5 separate regions of the Homo sapiens genome follow, and all the other regions are linked to region 1. Evidence: promoter capture Hi-C in 16 types of primary human blood cells and fetal thymus (Javierre and others, 2016). All regions are on one chromosome and are shown on one strand. Each heading gives the region's core, a stretch centred on a gene start or on the middle of the fragment in contact. The rest is flanking DNA. Distances are from core to core; before and after follow the strand shown.

What was found. Contacts are between HindIII fragments. The CHiCAGO score rates a contact against its expected background, and 5 or more counts as called.
Region 2: a fragment that was not itself captured here is called in contact with the fragment with the promoter of COA5 in region 1 in 2 of 17 cell types (non-activated CD4 T cells and naive CD4 T cells); the score reaches 5.9 in non-activated CD4 T cells.
Region 3: a contact is called between a fragment that was not itself captured here and the fragment with the promoter of COA5 in region 1, in 13 of 17 cell types (non-activated CD4 T cells, naive CD4 T cells, activated CD4 T cells and 10 more). The highest score is 18.1, in non-activated CD4 T cells.
Region 4: a contact is called between a fragment that was not itself captured here and the fragment with the promoter of COA5 in region 1, in 5 of 17 cell types (non-activated CD4 T cells, total CD8 T cells, naive CD4 T cells and 2 more). The highest score is 9.0, in non-activated CD4 T cells.
Region 5: a fragment that was not itself captured here is called in contact with the fragment with the promoter of COA5 in region 1 in 2 of 17 cell types (non-activated CD4 T cells and naive CD4 T cells); the score reaches 7.0 in non-activated CD4 T cells.

Annotation. Positions count from the first base shown.
Region 1 is chr2:98,607,028-98,609,917 of GRCh38, forward strand. COA5 (cytochrome c oxidase assembly factor 5) reads right to left here and starts at 1,485. Exons shown (of 3, transcript NM_001008215.3): 1 at 1,280-1,485. The coding sequence starts at 1,378. UNC50 (unc-50 inner nuclear membrane RNA binding protein) reads left to right here and starts at 1,562. Exons shown (of 6, transcript NM_014044.7): 1 at 1,562-1,699; 2 at 2,729-2,890. The coding sequence starts at 2,733. RefSeq lists an enhancer at 637-1,626 and a silencer at 1,690-1,789. The HindIII fragment of the contact is 2,113 bases long and covers 145-2,257 here.
Region 2 is chr2:98,851,247-98,854,136 of GRCh38, forward strand. The region is part of intron 1 of CRACDL (CRACD like); the gene reads right to left. Among named protein-coding and RNA genes, the nearest start is that of LINC02611, 81 kb to the left of the region's middle. The HindIII fragment of the contact is 3,322 bases long and covers 1-2,890 here.
Region 3 is chr2:98,830,367-98,833,256 of GRCh38, forward strand. CRACDL (CRACD like) reads right to left here. Exons shown (of 10, transcript NM_207362.3): 4 at 2,496-2,631; 5 at 1,982-2,146. Among named protein-coding and RNA genes, the nearest start is that of LINC02611, 60 kb to the left of the region's middle. The HindIII fragment of the contact is 4,284 bases long and covers 1-2,890 here.
Region 4 is chr2:98,812,886-98,815,775 of GRCh38, forward strand. The region is part of intron 7 of CRACDL (CRACD like); the gene reads right to left. Among named protein-coding and RNA genes, the nearest start is that of LINC02611, 42 kb to the left of the region's middle. The HindIII fragment of the contact is 277 bases long and covers 1,363-1,639 here.
Region 5 is chr2:98,775,785-98,778,674 of GRCh38, forward strand. No RefSeq gene overlaps it. Among named protein-coding and RNA genes, the nearest start is that of LINC02611, 5.3 kb to the left of the region's middle. RefSeq lists an enhancer at 2,776-2,890. The HindIII fragment of the contact is 3,905 bases long and covers 1-2,890 here.

The sequences.
Region 1 (2,890 bases), core at 235-2,734:
ATTCTGAAGCAAAATCAGACGCTCTCCCTTGGGCTAACGCATTTTTCTCCTCAAGATCTAGTCATTAAACACATGTTTAATAAATGCTTACAGTCTTATGGCAGGAATTTAGACCCTTAGATGTCTATTTCTCCCATGACACCAAGCTTACATGGGTAGTGACTGTTACTGATTCATCTTCGTTATCACCAGTGTCAGGTACCATGCCTGCCACTTAAGAGGCATTTACCAGGAGCTGGCTGAACGGCAGCACCAGTGAGTAAGGGGCAGAAGGGACACAGCCCTGGACAGGGGAGCCTGAAAACAACGGTACTTCAGTTTCCTCATTTATATAAGGAAGTTGGGCGAGATAATCTCTTAAATTTATAATAACTCAAGTTTTACTAGACATTGGGAGGCGAGAATGGCTGACTGCTAAAATCAGTGAACCAAACAAATTGTGACTCGGTAGAAACACTGGTACAGTCTTACAGTGGATGTCCATTTGGGGGTAATCTTTTCTCTGAAATAACAGCAACTTTCTGAAACTACATCCCCCAATGCAAAGACAATTGCACACAATTGAATGCCCTCTCGTCGGGCCTCTGCAATTGGAAAAGGCACTTGTGCTTTACTTGAGCTCTAATCCAGAACTCAGGTCCACTGTGAACCTCACTACATGTTTCAGTGCATTCCAAGAGGGTGCTGAGGAGACCTGTGTCTGTAGCCGGGGAGTGAAGGAAGAGTGTAGGGGAAGCAAGATACGAAATCGTGAAAATATGGAGTTGCCTTATTTTTACAACTTAACATCCAAGAATGCAGAGAACTGTAACTCAGAAACAAATTCACATCAACACAAGTCAAACTGAGCACACATTGTCACAACTGAACAGGCAGGAGACACTACTGGCCAGGGCAGTGTACCAGGTTTACGCAACTCTCTGGAATCATTAATTCTACAGATTATCATTTCTAGGCAGGCAAGAAACCTGGCTTATTCTCCTTTATGTCTCCAAAGCCTAGTAGAGTGCTAGCATTCAATAAAGGCTTCGTGAACTGAAATGGGTTAACCTTTACAAAAACCCGACAGGGTGCGTTTATCGTTATCTCCGATTTAACCCCACAGGGAACTGGGGCTCCGACAGCTCAGTGGATCTGCGCACGTTCAGTGAGCCCGAGCTGTGACCTACGCCCGGGATGGTTAACTCCAACCGCCGCCGCGGGCGACCCGCTGCCCTCCGCCGAGCCAGGCCTGCCTGGGACAGGGGTCGTCACCACCGGGAGCGCCCGGCCGCGCTACCTGGACCACACAGTCCGACTGCAGCAGACACGCGCCCAGGTCCTCCTTCAGGCCCGCGCACGCGCCGCCCTGCGGCTTGTCCTCATAATACTTAGGCATGACGGCGCTTCCCCTCCGATGCGGACGCGACTTTCTCCCACCGCAACACTTGCAACCGGGTCGGGAGCGAGCGAGGCCCCAGTCTCAGGGGACCGGAAGCCAGCGGCAACAACTTCCGGCGGGCCGCGGCGGTAGGGCCGAGGACTACGGGGGCCGAGAGGTGGCGCGTCCGCGGCGGAAGTCGGTTCCCGTGACGCGGCGCGCCCCAAGGGCCGGCTCCGTTGAGGGAAGGGAAGCCCGCCCGGTGGCGGCTGGGGTCGGCTGCTGGGAGGAGGTGGTGGGCTGGTTCGGACGTGGGTCGAGGCTGTAGCAGGACTCCAGGTGAGGCCTGAGGACCACTCTGCCCTCCCGCGGCCCGGGCTCGCGCCGGGGGCCATTTAATCCCGACAGCTTGCGGCCTGACGTCGCTGCGGCCTGGCAGTGACCATGTCGGCGTCCGGCCCCTCGGCCGGCGATAGAGTTGCGGCTAAAATGAAAGGACGCCCAGTTACATTTGCATCGTAGATAAAGAAAGAGCATTTAGTATAAGCATGTCCGAAATGTTGCGTGGGATGTAGGCATACTAAAACCTTATTCGTGGCCTGTCTGAAATCCAAATGGAGCTGGGTATTCTGTGTTTTTATTTGCTAAATCTGGCAGCCGTACCCGCGGCCCCGGGCAGGGAGGGAGCAGCTGGGCTCGGCCAGACCCTGCCGGCGTCTGGGGGGCCTGCGAAGTGGAGGGGAGACGGGCAGCCGGGCAGTGGCCGGCGTTCCCCGGAGCTCGGACCGGTTGGATTGGACTCCGACGCTACCGCTCCCTCTGCTGAACTATTCCGGATGTAAAACACTAGGGATCGGAGTTTTTCTTGGTTTTTTAATCTCATTCTAGTGACCGAGAAGCTTGCTGGCAGTGCGCTGATGGATCTGTGTGAATAGGCCATTTATTTGACCTCTTCAGTAACACTGTTCTAACCGGCTGAAACTGCTTTCTTAGGCATTTTCTTAAAAGCTTGGTGGTTAAGAGCACGGAATTTCGAGTCAGATTTCCAATCTTGGCTCTATCACTATCCTCGGAGTCATGGGGCAGTCACATCATCCCTGTCTCTGTAATGGTAGCTGCCCCTGGATAAGTGTTATTAGGTGATTCAGAAGGGTGGGCTGTTGCCCTTGCCTGAGGTTGCAGTCTGCGGTTCCCAAGCCCCAAGACCCGCCTCAGAACTAACTGCATTTGCTTTTGACTCCTGGCCTTTCTCTAGGGTTGGGAAGAACATGGAAAGTGACCTCCCTGCCAAATAACTCAGAAGAGGAGTGTCGGTAGCCAAATGTTTCTTCAGAATACGTGTAAAAGAAATGTTTTTCTTCCATCTAGGAAGATGTTACCGAGTACTTCAGTGAATTCCTTAGTGCAGGGGAACGGAGTCTTGAATTCCAGGGATGCGGCAAGACACACAGCCGGAGCGAAACGCTACAAATATCTGAGAAGGCTTTTCCGCTTTCGGCAAATGGACTTTGAATTTGCTGCCTGGCAGAT
Region 2 (2,890 bases), core at 216-2,715, 240 kb after region 1:
TGCCTATTATATTCACTGCTCTTTTACCAGTACCCAGGACAGTGCCCGACCAGAGAACTGAACAGATCACACCAAACAAGAGAACTGACAAACTAGAGGGGCTTCTGGGTATTAGAATCCTTTCAGATCTTTGAATATCAATTCATTTAACCTCAGAGAGCTGTAGAGAGACCCAGAAAGAGTGACTCTTGGTTCACCTTTCCCTTATCAGTTTGAAGAGGTGATTTAATCTACCTGAGGTCAGCGTTAGGGAAGACAGGGAAAACACCCACCTTTATTCAATCTTTACACCTCCCTTTCCAACAGTGCTTTCCCTCACTTTCTTCCCATAGCAGGGTTCTGCCATCTACCCTGCATCACCTTCTCCAGGGTCTCTGTACCCACCAACTTTCAGGTCAGTATCAGCAGTGATGCCCTCTCAGAGCTAAGTATTTTAAATAGAAAACTCCAATGAAAGAAAATAAGTGCCAACATAGATTCTAAACTCCAGAAAAATATCCTTCAAATTTAAAGGTAGGTTAGACTTCCAAGTGGTAGAGTAGCCTACACCACAGTAAAACTTTCCACTGATGATAAGTATAAACTGTGGAGAAAAGATGAAAAACAATCATTTGAAGGCAGTTATGAGCAATTGAAAGCAGAAATTAAAGTGGAATCAACTCTTCTTTTCTTTTTTATTATTTTTTAGTTTTTTATTTTTGGAATCAACACTTAAAAAAAGGGAATTGCAGTAGGAGTGATTTATGTGTGTAGGGCTTTTGACCTGGAAAAGCTCTCAGGTATGTGTGTTGTGGAGTGGCTGGAGCTCAAATACAAAGCCATAATCTTATGGGCTTGATGAATCCAAGAATGGAATTTAGGGCTGCCAGAGCAGATGGAAACTGAGGGAGAATATCTTAGGAAGGAAAAAACTTCAGAGAGAGGAGCACCAAAATCCACATGTAAACCCTATCCTAATTCTTGGCTCCCCTCCCCTGAATTCTGCACATACTGGGGAGACTCCAAGGAACCAGGCAGAAGATAACAGCTGGGAGGCTGAGGGAAATGAACTAAGATTTTTCTACTGCTCACTGCAGGAGAGACAGAGTTCACAGGTAACAAACAGCCTGCTAGAACAAAATCAATAATCTTCGGGACAGCATAGGTTCCAGAGTTCCTATGAAATATCATTTACAATGTCTACCATATAATCAAAATTTACAAAACATGCAAAGAAATAGGAAAATATGACCCATAGTCATGAGAAAAAAAACACCTAAGAAAGAATAATCCTGAGTGACCAAAATGCTTAAATAGCCAACAAAGACTTTAAAGAAGCTACTTAAAACAAAAATGTAGCCATAATATATAAAAAGATAAAGAATTTCAAATTAGAAACATACAATATAAAGAAGAAACACATGGAAATCATCAAGATGAAAACTGTAATTTCTAAAATAAAATATTTATTAAATGGGCTTAACAGCAGATTGAAGACATCAAAAGAAAGGATCAATCAAATTGAAGAGAGATCAATAGAAATGATCCAATCTGAAGAACAGAGAGAAAAAGACTGGGAAAAAAGTGAATCTGAACACAGCCTCAGTGACCAGTGGTGCAGTATTGATTGGTCTAACATATATTTAATTGAGTCCCAGAAACAGGGAGTGGGGGGAGTGTGAAGAAGCAGGAGAGAGAAAGAGGGAAAAGGAGAGAGAAGAAGGAAGGAGAGGGAAGGGGTGGGTGCGGGAGAGAGAGAGAGAGAGGGAGGAGAGGGGAGGGGAGGGGAGGGGAAGGGAAGGGAAAGGGAAGGGAAGGGGAAAGGGAAGGGGGGGCATTAAAAATATTTGGAGAACTTACGAATAAACATTTCTCCAAAATGGTGGAAAAGATAATGTTACAGATCTAAGAATCTTAGCAAACTCCAAGAAAACCACAACAAGGCACATCATAGACCTCACAGAAGTGTGGAACACAGCATAGTGTACTAAAACCAAAGATGAAGAGGAAATCTTGACAACAGCCAGAGAAAAATGACACATCATAAACAGGCAAACAACAATATAAATGACCAACAATGGATAAGAAAAGCCAACAGAATAGTCTCTTTAAAGTGCTGATAGAAAACAAAGAACAACCCAATATTCTATATCCAGAAAAATTATCCTTCAATAATGAAGGCAAAATATAGACATTTTTAGATAAGTGAAAAGTACTTTCACTTATCTAAAAAGTGATATGTACTACACTTTTCTAAAAAGTGATATGTACTGCAGATATGTACTACAGGAAATGCAAAACAAAAGTTTTTTAGGATGAAAGAAAATTATACCAGATTGAAATTGAAAGCTATAGAAAGAATGAAGCATAATGAATGTGGTAAATATGTGGGTAAATATTAAAAAGTACGTGTTTTTCTTTTCTAAATTTATTTAAATGCATATAACAACTAAAAAAACTATTATGAATTTACAATGTATGTAGATGTAATATGTGACTATAACATAAAGGTAGGAGTTGTATGTATGACTAGACTATCACAAGGTTCTGGCATTTTACGTGAAGTGGTACAAGACTAACTCTAAACAGACAGTCACAATTTCAGAATTAATACTGTGATCCCTAGAGAAAACACTAAAAAATTTAATGCAAAGAAGTTTAGCTAAAACGCTAAAATAAAATTTATAATGGAACACCCAAAAATTCAATTAACCCCAAAAAAGGCAGAACAGAGGAACAAAACAAATAGGAAGAACAGAGGAACAAAAACAAAACCAAGCTGGCGCAGTGGCTCACACCTGTAATACCAGCACTTTGGGAGGCCGAGGTGGGTGGATCACGAGGTCAGGAGTTCGAGACCAGTCTGGCCAACATGGTGAAACCTCATCTCTACTAAAAATACAAAAATTAG
Region 3 (2,890 bases), core at 235-2,734, 220 kb after region 1:
TGTGTGTAAGCCTGTGGGTCAGTGTAAGGTATAAACAGTCTGCAGCCCATACTTTTGGGGCTTAAGGCACTATTACATCAAATACCACATATTCTACAAGCCCATTTTAAAGGGTGTGTTGTTTTTCCCTCTTAATCAACCAATTATGCATAAAAACTTTCAGGCCTCAAAATGCAATCATTGTGTCTTCAAAACGATGAAGACACTAAAGATTACCTTTCTGTTTTTAAGTCTTAAAAGCCCAAATTTTGGTTTCCTATGAAGCTGGTAGATTGTCCATATTACCCAATAATTGATAAAATCTCAGAACTTTTTTTTTTTAAATAAAGGACCAACCACAGGAGGTGGTTGTGCTGTGAGAGATAAAGTCAGGCTGGCCCAGCCGAGCCAGCTGTGGAATTTGTGCCTCATAGTGTCACATGGGTTTGGAGATAGGCTTGCTCTTCAATGGATGGGTTAGAAACTACCTCTCCTCTTACTGCCCGTCCTGGCTAAAGGCAGAGAACTGGGATGCTGTGAGAGTCAGAGACCTGTGGGATGGGAGGAGGGGGAGTCCATCTATGATGAGGAAAGAGGCAGCTCATGACAGACCTCTTCCTACTGCATAGCTCAGAAATACACTAAGTCACATCTGCTCCTGAGAGGGGGACGCTGAAACTGCACACAGGAGTATTTGGAGGTGTTAAAAGGGGTACAGGGTTGGCTCGGTGAAGTCTATGAAATAGGCCACCCCATCCTCCTCATCCTTTCTCCCTTCTGCTCGAGGCTGGAGAGCAGGCCTGGGTAGCCCACTGTCCTCAGACCCTGCTCCTGGAATGAGCAGGGACAGCTTCGCCCCAGAGCAGAATTCTGGAGAGAATAATTCTCTAGCCGGCTTCATGTCAGTCCCCACCCCACACACTCAGCCACACCACAGTCCTTTTGCCTTTTTCATCAGTGACGTTCGGGGAACTCACAACTACACACAAAAATTTGGTGTGGCAGGGTGTATAGGTGTCCACACTGAAGTGGCTTCTGAACACAATTCAGAGAAGCACAGAATCTGCAAGGCAGTGAGTCGCAACGAAGCTCCCCCTTCACTGTGAATGGCCCCTCGAGCAGGCCAGAGGTGACAGGGGAAGGTGTGTGGCTATAAAAAATAAACTCTGGCCTTTATTTGTTTTTCAAATGTCAGCATAACAGATAACTCCAACTCTATCCATCCTCCACAGTCAGGCTTGTCTACATGGGAAGGATGACCACCTATTTTTAACATTTATGTGCAAGTACAGTGTATGGGCATTAAGTGTTCTTACCACAATAACATAAAGAATTTAAAATGTGGCAGCATCGCGAGCTATGTTGTTTATGCACGAGAAAGAGCTCGTGCTCTTTTCCGAGTTCCTCGGGGCCCCCCTCTTGGATTCTAATGGAGAAGGTGGTGTTTGGGACTGGTTCCTCCACCCTGCTGAGGTCATCAGTTCCTCTCTTGCTTGTCAACCTTTCCCTGCTGCCCTGTTTGCCAGCAATACAGCACATTACTACCCCTAGGCCAACACCACCTCAAGGTCACAAACTCAGGCACCGGAGACCATCAGAGCCTCAACTATCACATGCTCACTACTTCCCCCTCCCACCGGCCAAATGTCATGGCAACGGAAAACAGATACAACGTGTTTCCCTACTTCTAATGGGGTTCTGGGTCTGGTCATCTGCTCAGACAGGAAAGTCAAGGGACAGGGTTGATTCTGGGTTGATTCTATCAACCTATCACCCTCATTAAAAAAAGTCACCAAAACCACGTCTCCTAACCAGACCTGAATTTCTACTCAAAGAATGAAAATAAACACAGCTCAAGGGCTGATTGTAGGCTCCAGTGACCCAGTTGGCCACACCATGCACAGCCTGGAGATCTTAGGGGCACACACAGGGGATCTCAGAGCTCCAGCACCCTCCAGGGCAGGTGTGGATGAAGACATGCAGTGGTACAGGCCGCACTTGCCTTTATGGTGGTACCAGGACCCACGTCGTGCAGCAGAGACATCTCTGGGGGGCTCCTGGGCAGCCCGTCGTCCTCAGAGCTCATGCCGGCATCCTCTCCCCGCTTGGCAGGAAGCCCCCCTGGAGGAGGTGGTGGCCCCATTTTCACATTACACTGTATTTTTAACTAGATTGGAATAAAGAACATGTGCTCTTATTTTCATCAATGATATTTATCAACAAATCCTCCTGCTCTAATTCATTCATGCTGGAAATGCCTTCAGTATCTTGGTGTGGTGCAGAGAACTGAACTGAACGTGCATCTGCCACCAGCTCTTCCACTGCCATCTCTTCTTTGTTCATCTAAGAATGAGTCGAGATCCCACTGCAGCTCATTTGGTGTGTCCTGGGGGAGCTGTCATGTACATGTGATTCTACTTTACAGCATATCAAATAAACCAAGCAGAAATCATTTAAAAACTTCTTGATGGATATTTGACTTGCACACCAGGCGACATGACCAAGGAAACATTTACCTGCAGAGCTTTAATCCGATCACACACATTTTCTTGGGAAAACACCCGCACAGGCCGAGTAGCGTCCTGTCCGGACTCAGGAATGAAAATACTGTCGTGAGAAAGGGCCCGGCTGCCCAGCGTGCCCCTCGACTCCCTAGGATAAAAGAGCCACTGTGAGACTCTGCCCACCTCCATCTTACTGACCCCTGGGGGGCTCAGAATGAGAAAGAGGGATGTGAGTGAACAGAACATCAAACAACACTCCCTCTGCTGCATTTACATTTCAGTGGTCCCTGACTTCAGTTCATCCACACGCTGTCAAATGCCAGTCAACTATTTGGAGCATTGCAGAGATAGGAATTTTCCTAGGAGATCTAAAGGTTGTGTGAATTATTTTTGTATTAATGAAAAAA
Region 4 (2,890 bases), core at 251-2,750, 210 kb after region 1:
AATTTTCCACTTTGGATGCTTTGATGACAAGTCTAAGATGTCTTTGCCTAGCCCTATATCCCAAATATTTTCTCATATTTTTTTCTAAAAGTTTTATAGTTTTCATTTTACATTTAAGTCCATGACCCCTTTTGAGTTAATTTTGTATATGATGTAAGACTTAGGTCAAGGTTCATACTTTTGCCTATGAATATTCCTATGCTTCAGGACCATTTGGTTGTGATGTACAATTTGATAATATTTTGTTAAGAATTTTGCATCTAGGGCAGGCACAGTGGCTCATGCCTGTAATCCCAGCACTTTGGGAGGCTGAGGCAGGTGGATCACCTGAGGTCAGGAGTTTGAGACCAGCTTGACCAACATGGTGAAACCCTGTCTTCACTAAAAATACAAAAAATTGGTCAGGTGTGGTGGTGGGTGCCTGTAATCCTAGCTACTTGGGAGGCTGAGGCAGGAGAATTGCTTGAACCTGGCAGATGGAGGTTGCAGTGAGCCAAGATTGAGCCATTGCACTCCAGCTTGGGCAACAAGAGCAAGACTCTGTCTTAAAAAAAAATTTTGCATCTAAATTCAGAGATACTATAGTATACTAAATTGTACATCACAACCAAATGGTCCTGAAGCATAGGAACATTCATAGGCAAAAGTATGAACCTTGACCTAAGTCTCACATCATATACAAAATGAACTCAAAAGGTGTCATGGACTTAAATGTAAAATGAAAACTATAAAAATTTTAGAAAAAAATATGAGAAAATATAGTATCTCTGAATTTAGTATAGTATACAGAGAGTCTATAGTTTTCTGTATTGTCTTTAATTCCAGTATTACAATCATGCTGGCCTCATAAAACGGGTTGGGAAGTGTTTCCCCTTAGTTTTGCTGAGATTTTGTATAATTGGTGTTATTTCTTCTTTAAATGCTTGGTAGAAATCACCAGTCAAACCACGTGAAAATGGAGTTTTCTGGAAGGTTTTTACCTACAGATTTGATCACTTTAACAGATACAGGACCATTCATGCTATTTTTTAAGTTTGATAGTTTGTGTCTTTCAAGGAATTGGCCCTTTTCTTCTCATTTGTCAAATTTATGTGCGTAGAATTGTTCATAGTATTCCCTTATTATCATTTTAATGCCTATGGAGTCAGTAGTGGCACTCCATAATGTTTGTAATTTGTGTCTTTTTTCCCCTCAGTTTTTAAATCAACTTTATTGGCTATTTTGAAGAACCATCTTTTGGTTTCATCAATTTTTTTTCTATTATTTTTATATTTTCATTTATGTTTGCTCTTATGTTTATTATTTCTTTCCTTCTTGCTTTGAGTTTAGTTTGCTTTTCTTTTTCTAGTTCCTTAAAGTGGAAGCTTAAATTACTGCTTTGAAACATTTTTTCTTTCTAATATAATTTAATGTTGAGTTTCCCTAAGTACCAGTTTATCTGCATTCCACAAATTTTGATATGTTGTATTTTCATTTTAATCCAGTGTTCTAATTTCCCTTGAGACATCCTCTTTGATCCATGGATTATATAGTGGTGTAGTGTTTAATTTCAAATATTTGATGATCTTTTTCATATTTCTTTCCAGATATTTTTCAGATGTTATCAAACTCTTATTTAATTCATTAAGGGCAGAGAACAAGCTTTGAATAATTTCAATTCTTTCGAATTTAATAAGGGCTGTTTAGTGACCTAGAATATGGTCTATCTTCATGAATGTCCCATGTGCACTTGAAAAGAACATGTATTCTGCTGTGGCTGGTGGGCTGTTCTATAAATATCAATTAGGTCAAGTTGGTTGATGATGATGTTCAACCAACTTGACCTAATTGAAATATCCTTTCTGATTTTCTACCTGCTACTTTTCTTGACTACTGACAGAGGAGTGCTAAAGTCTCTACATCTTACTATGGATTTATTTATTTTTCCTTTCAGTACTACCAAGTTTTTGCTTCATGTATTTTGAAGCTCTGTTGTTAGGGACACACACATTTAGTACTCTTATGCATTCTTGATTCACCAATATTACTGAAATTATCATTATATAATGTTCCATTTTATCACTAATAATTGTCCTTTTTCTGAAGTCTTCTTTGTGTTATATGAATATATAGCCACTCCAGCTTTTCCAACTCTAAAATTTCTATCTTTATAGCTTCTATTTTTTTTTTACAGAGAATTTCTATCTTTCCATTAATTCCAAGAGTACTCATTTTTACTTCTTAGAATGTGGCATAATAGTTGCTTTAAAGTCTTTGTCTAATAATTCTAACATTTGAATCCTCTCAGGGTTGGCATTTGTTGATTGCCTTTTTCCTCGAGAATTTTTTAGGCTTTCCTGGTTCTTTGTATGTTGGATAATTTTGGTTCATATCCTACAGATTTTGAATATTATGCTGAGACTTGGTCCTTCTAAAATTCTCAAAAGGTTTTGCTGTGCTCATTCTAGTCAGTTTTATGCATGTGCAGCTCAGGGATGAGCCCAGAACTTCATACACACATTTAAAGGATATCTAACTCAGATGTCTCCTTTCTGTAATCTCCACTCCTCAAGGTTCTACGGCTAGAAAGCCAAGGTTTAGCCTCTCTGCACTGTAGCACCTTCTTGTGACTGGGACCACCTCAGGACAGAGTGGCAAGGGAAAGGAGCCTGCAGGACCCCCAACCACCATACCTGTTGCTGCTGTCTGTGCTAATACGGGGGTATAGCTTCATTTTTGGGTTTCTCTGGGGGTAATGTCTAAAGAGTCAAAAGAGCTCTGACCCATAGGAGCTGCTGTGGGGAGAGGCAGGTACTCACTTGGAGTGCTCTAGGCTGGTGCATACTTGGAGCAGGGCTGGAAGGGCTAAAGGACCGTTGCCCTGCAGAGGGTACTGCTACCATCTTCAGCA
Region 5 (2,890 bases), core at 171-2,670, 170 kb after region 1:
GCCAAGCGAAGCAGAGCTTGTCAGGTTCCTGGAACCGAGTATTAACGATTCCAATCAAGCAGGAAATGTCTGTGCCTGTTCTTTGCTAAGCTGGATTCCTCGCTCACTAGGCATCAAGGTGCCTGCGGAGTACGCTAGGCATGAGAAAGGTCTCGGGAGGCCGAGAGTGCCTGGCCTGCCCTCTGGCCCCACCCCAGGTCACGCTTGGGGTCCCTGTAGGCTGCTCACTGGTAATGGAGGAAGCCTTCATGGACTTGGGTCCCATCAGGCTGGCTCTCGGAGAAGCCCTGCAGAACTGTGGTTTGGTTTTAATGAGGGGAGAAGATTCCAAAAGTTTATCATGAAAAGCCCCATGACCACCTGTGTTTTAGAGACTTTGATGACTTCAGAGGCCTTGAAATACAATCCCAGAGAAAAACAGTCAGCTTTGGACATGTGTGTTTGTGTGTGCGTGCATGTGTGTGTGTTTTGGTGGGGGATTCCTAATTCTCACCCCCTAGCCTTCCTCCTGAGCTGGAAGCCAGCCTTGAACAGGCAAGGGTGGGTTCTTAACTTCCTCAGAGCTGGCTGAGAACCACAGAGGCAATTCCAAGTCAGATTAAACCCAGAGCCTTGTTCCAGCTTCTGTGTTTAAAGGGAAAGTCATTGTATATTCCTCCTGGATGCCCTCCTGCCCCCAGAGTCTCACTCCTGTGTCTGAACAGTGGGTGACTTCTCTCAGTGAGCATAGTTTTTGTTGATCATGATTTGCCAATCTGTTTCTGAAGTGGGGGGAAATTATAGCTGGTAAATTCTCAGTCTGGACAACACACAATGTCACTTTGCAATAAAATGTGTGAGGACAGATAAGATAGTTATTGTCCTTGCAACATTAGAGATCACCATTAGGTGGTATATTAGTCTAGATTCTCAGAGAAACAGAACCAGTAGCATATAGATATACAATTATGTACTGTATAACAATGTTTTGGTGAATGACAGGCCACATATGCAACAGTATTTTTATTGTGCCTTTTCTCTCTCTTTTTTTTTTTTTTTTGAGATGGAGTCTCTCTCTCTGTTCCCCAGGCTGGAGTGCAGTGGGGTGATCTCGGCTCACTGCAACCTCTGCCTCCTGGCTCCTGGGTTCAAGCGATTCTTTTGCCTCAGCCTCCTGAGTATCTGGGACTACAGGAGTGCACCACCACATCCAGCTAATTTTTGTATTTTTAGAAAAGATGAGGTTTCCTGATTTTGGCCAGGCTGGTCTCAAACTCCCAACCTCAAGTGCTGGGATTACAGGCATGAGCCACTGCGCCCAGCCTTACTGTGCCTTTTCTATGTTTAGATACACAAATACTTACCATTGTGTTACATTGCCTAGAGTGTTCAGTACAGTATCGTGCTGTATAGGTTTGTAGCCCAGGAGCAACAGGCTACACCACAAAGCCTATAGGCTTGTTTAAGTGCGTTCTATGATGTCCACACAATGACTTAATTGCCTAACAATGCGTGTTTCAGAATGTATCCTCATTGTTAAACAATGCATGACTGCATATGAAGAGATTTATTATACGGTATTGGTTCACGTGAGTATGGAGGCTGAGAAGTCCCACAATCTGCTGTCTGCAAGCTGGAGACTCAGGAAAGCTGGTGGTTAATTCAGAGGCCTAAGAGTTGGAGGGTCAATGGTGTAGATTGAGTCTGAAGGCCTGAAAAGCAGGAGCACTGGGGGAAGATGGCAAGCATCAGACAGAGAGATGGCAAATCCTCCTTCCTGCTCCATTTTTATTCTGTTTGGGTCTTCAATAGATTGGGCAATGCCTACCTGTATTGCTGATGGCAATCTGCTTTACTGAGCCCACTAATCCAAATGATAATCTCTTCCAGAAACACCCACACAGACAAATACAGAAATAATGTTTAACCAGCTATCTGGGCAACCAGTGACCTAGTCAAGTTGAAACATAAAATTAACTACCACAAGTGTCATGGTAGCTTTTTTCCCTCTAAGTAGCTAAAATAAAGGTTAGACAATGCCCATTGTACCCTATTACAGAATGAAGGAATGAAGCCTACACTCTTTGGCATTCTGAAAACAGAGTTGCCAGCCAGGTGTGTCCCTGCATCAGCACTGGGAGCTGTTTTTCATTCCCCAGGTCCAACCCTGTCATAAAAGCGCAAGCTGAGCAATTAACAATTTGCAGATGATATTTAAGCAGTGCCTCAGAGGGAAAAGAAAAAAACAACATGCCCTTTCTTTTCTGTTTTTAGTAACATTCTTGGTAACATATTTATGCATTTTGTACAGAGGACATAAGTAAATATTGTGGAAAAACACATTTTATACCTTCCAAGGCCTTAATAATCATGGCAGTTATCAAAGGCCCAAGAAGGCCTCAGCACTAAATCACGTGGCTTCAGAAATGCATGAATAAATCTGTAGTCAAGCCTTTGCAGAGGAAATGTGAACTACAAATCAACTGGCCTCAGACAATTCATTTATTTAATTTGTCCTTTGGATTTACAAAGAGATCCAATTAATTTAGAGATGCTTCCATTGGCACTTGCTGCTCTGGAGGGCCCCTCGCTGAGAATATTGAGTTCCTGGAACCAATGACTCACATCGTTTATTTCTGTGCATTGTGCTCAGCCCCTGGAACCCAGCTTTCCCAATTTTAGAAGGTCAAGGGATTAACCTGTTCAGCATTTTATTTATGTATTTACTTATTTGAGTCTCACTTTGTTGCCCAGGCTGGAGTACGGTGGTGTGATCTTGGCTCACTGCAACCTCCACCTACAGGTTTCAAGTGATTCTCCTGCCTCAGCCTCCCAAGGAGCTGGGAGTTACAGGCGTCCACCACCACGCCCAGATAATTTTTGCATTTTTAATGGAAACAGCAGTTCACCA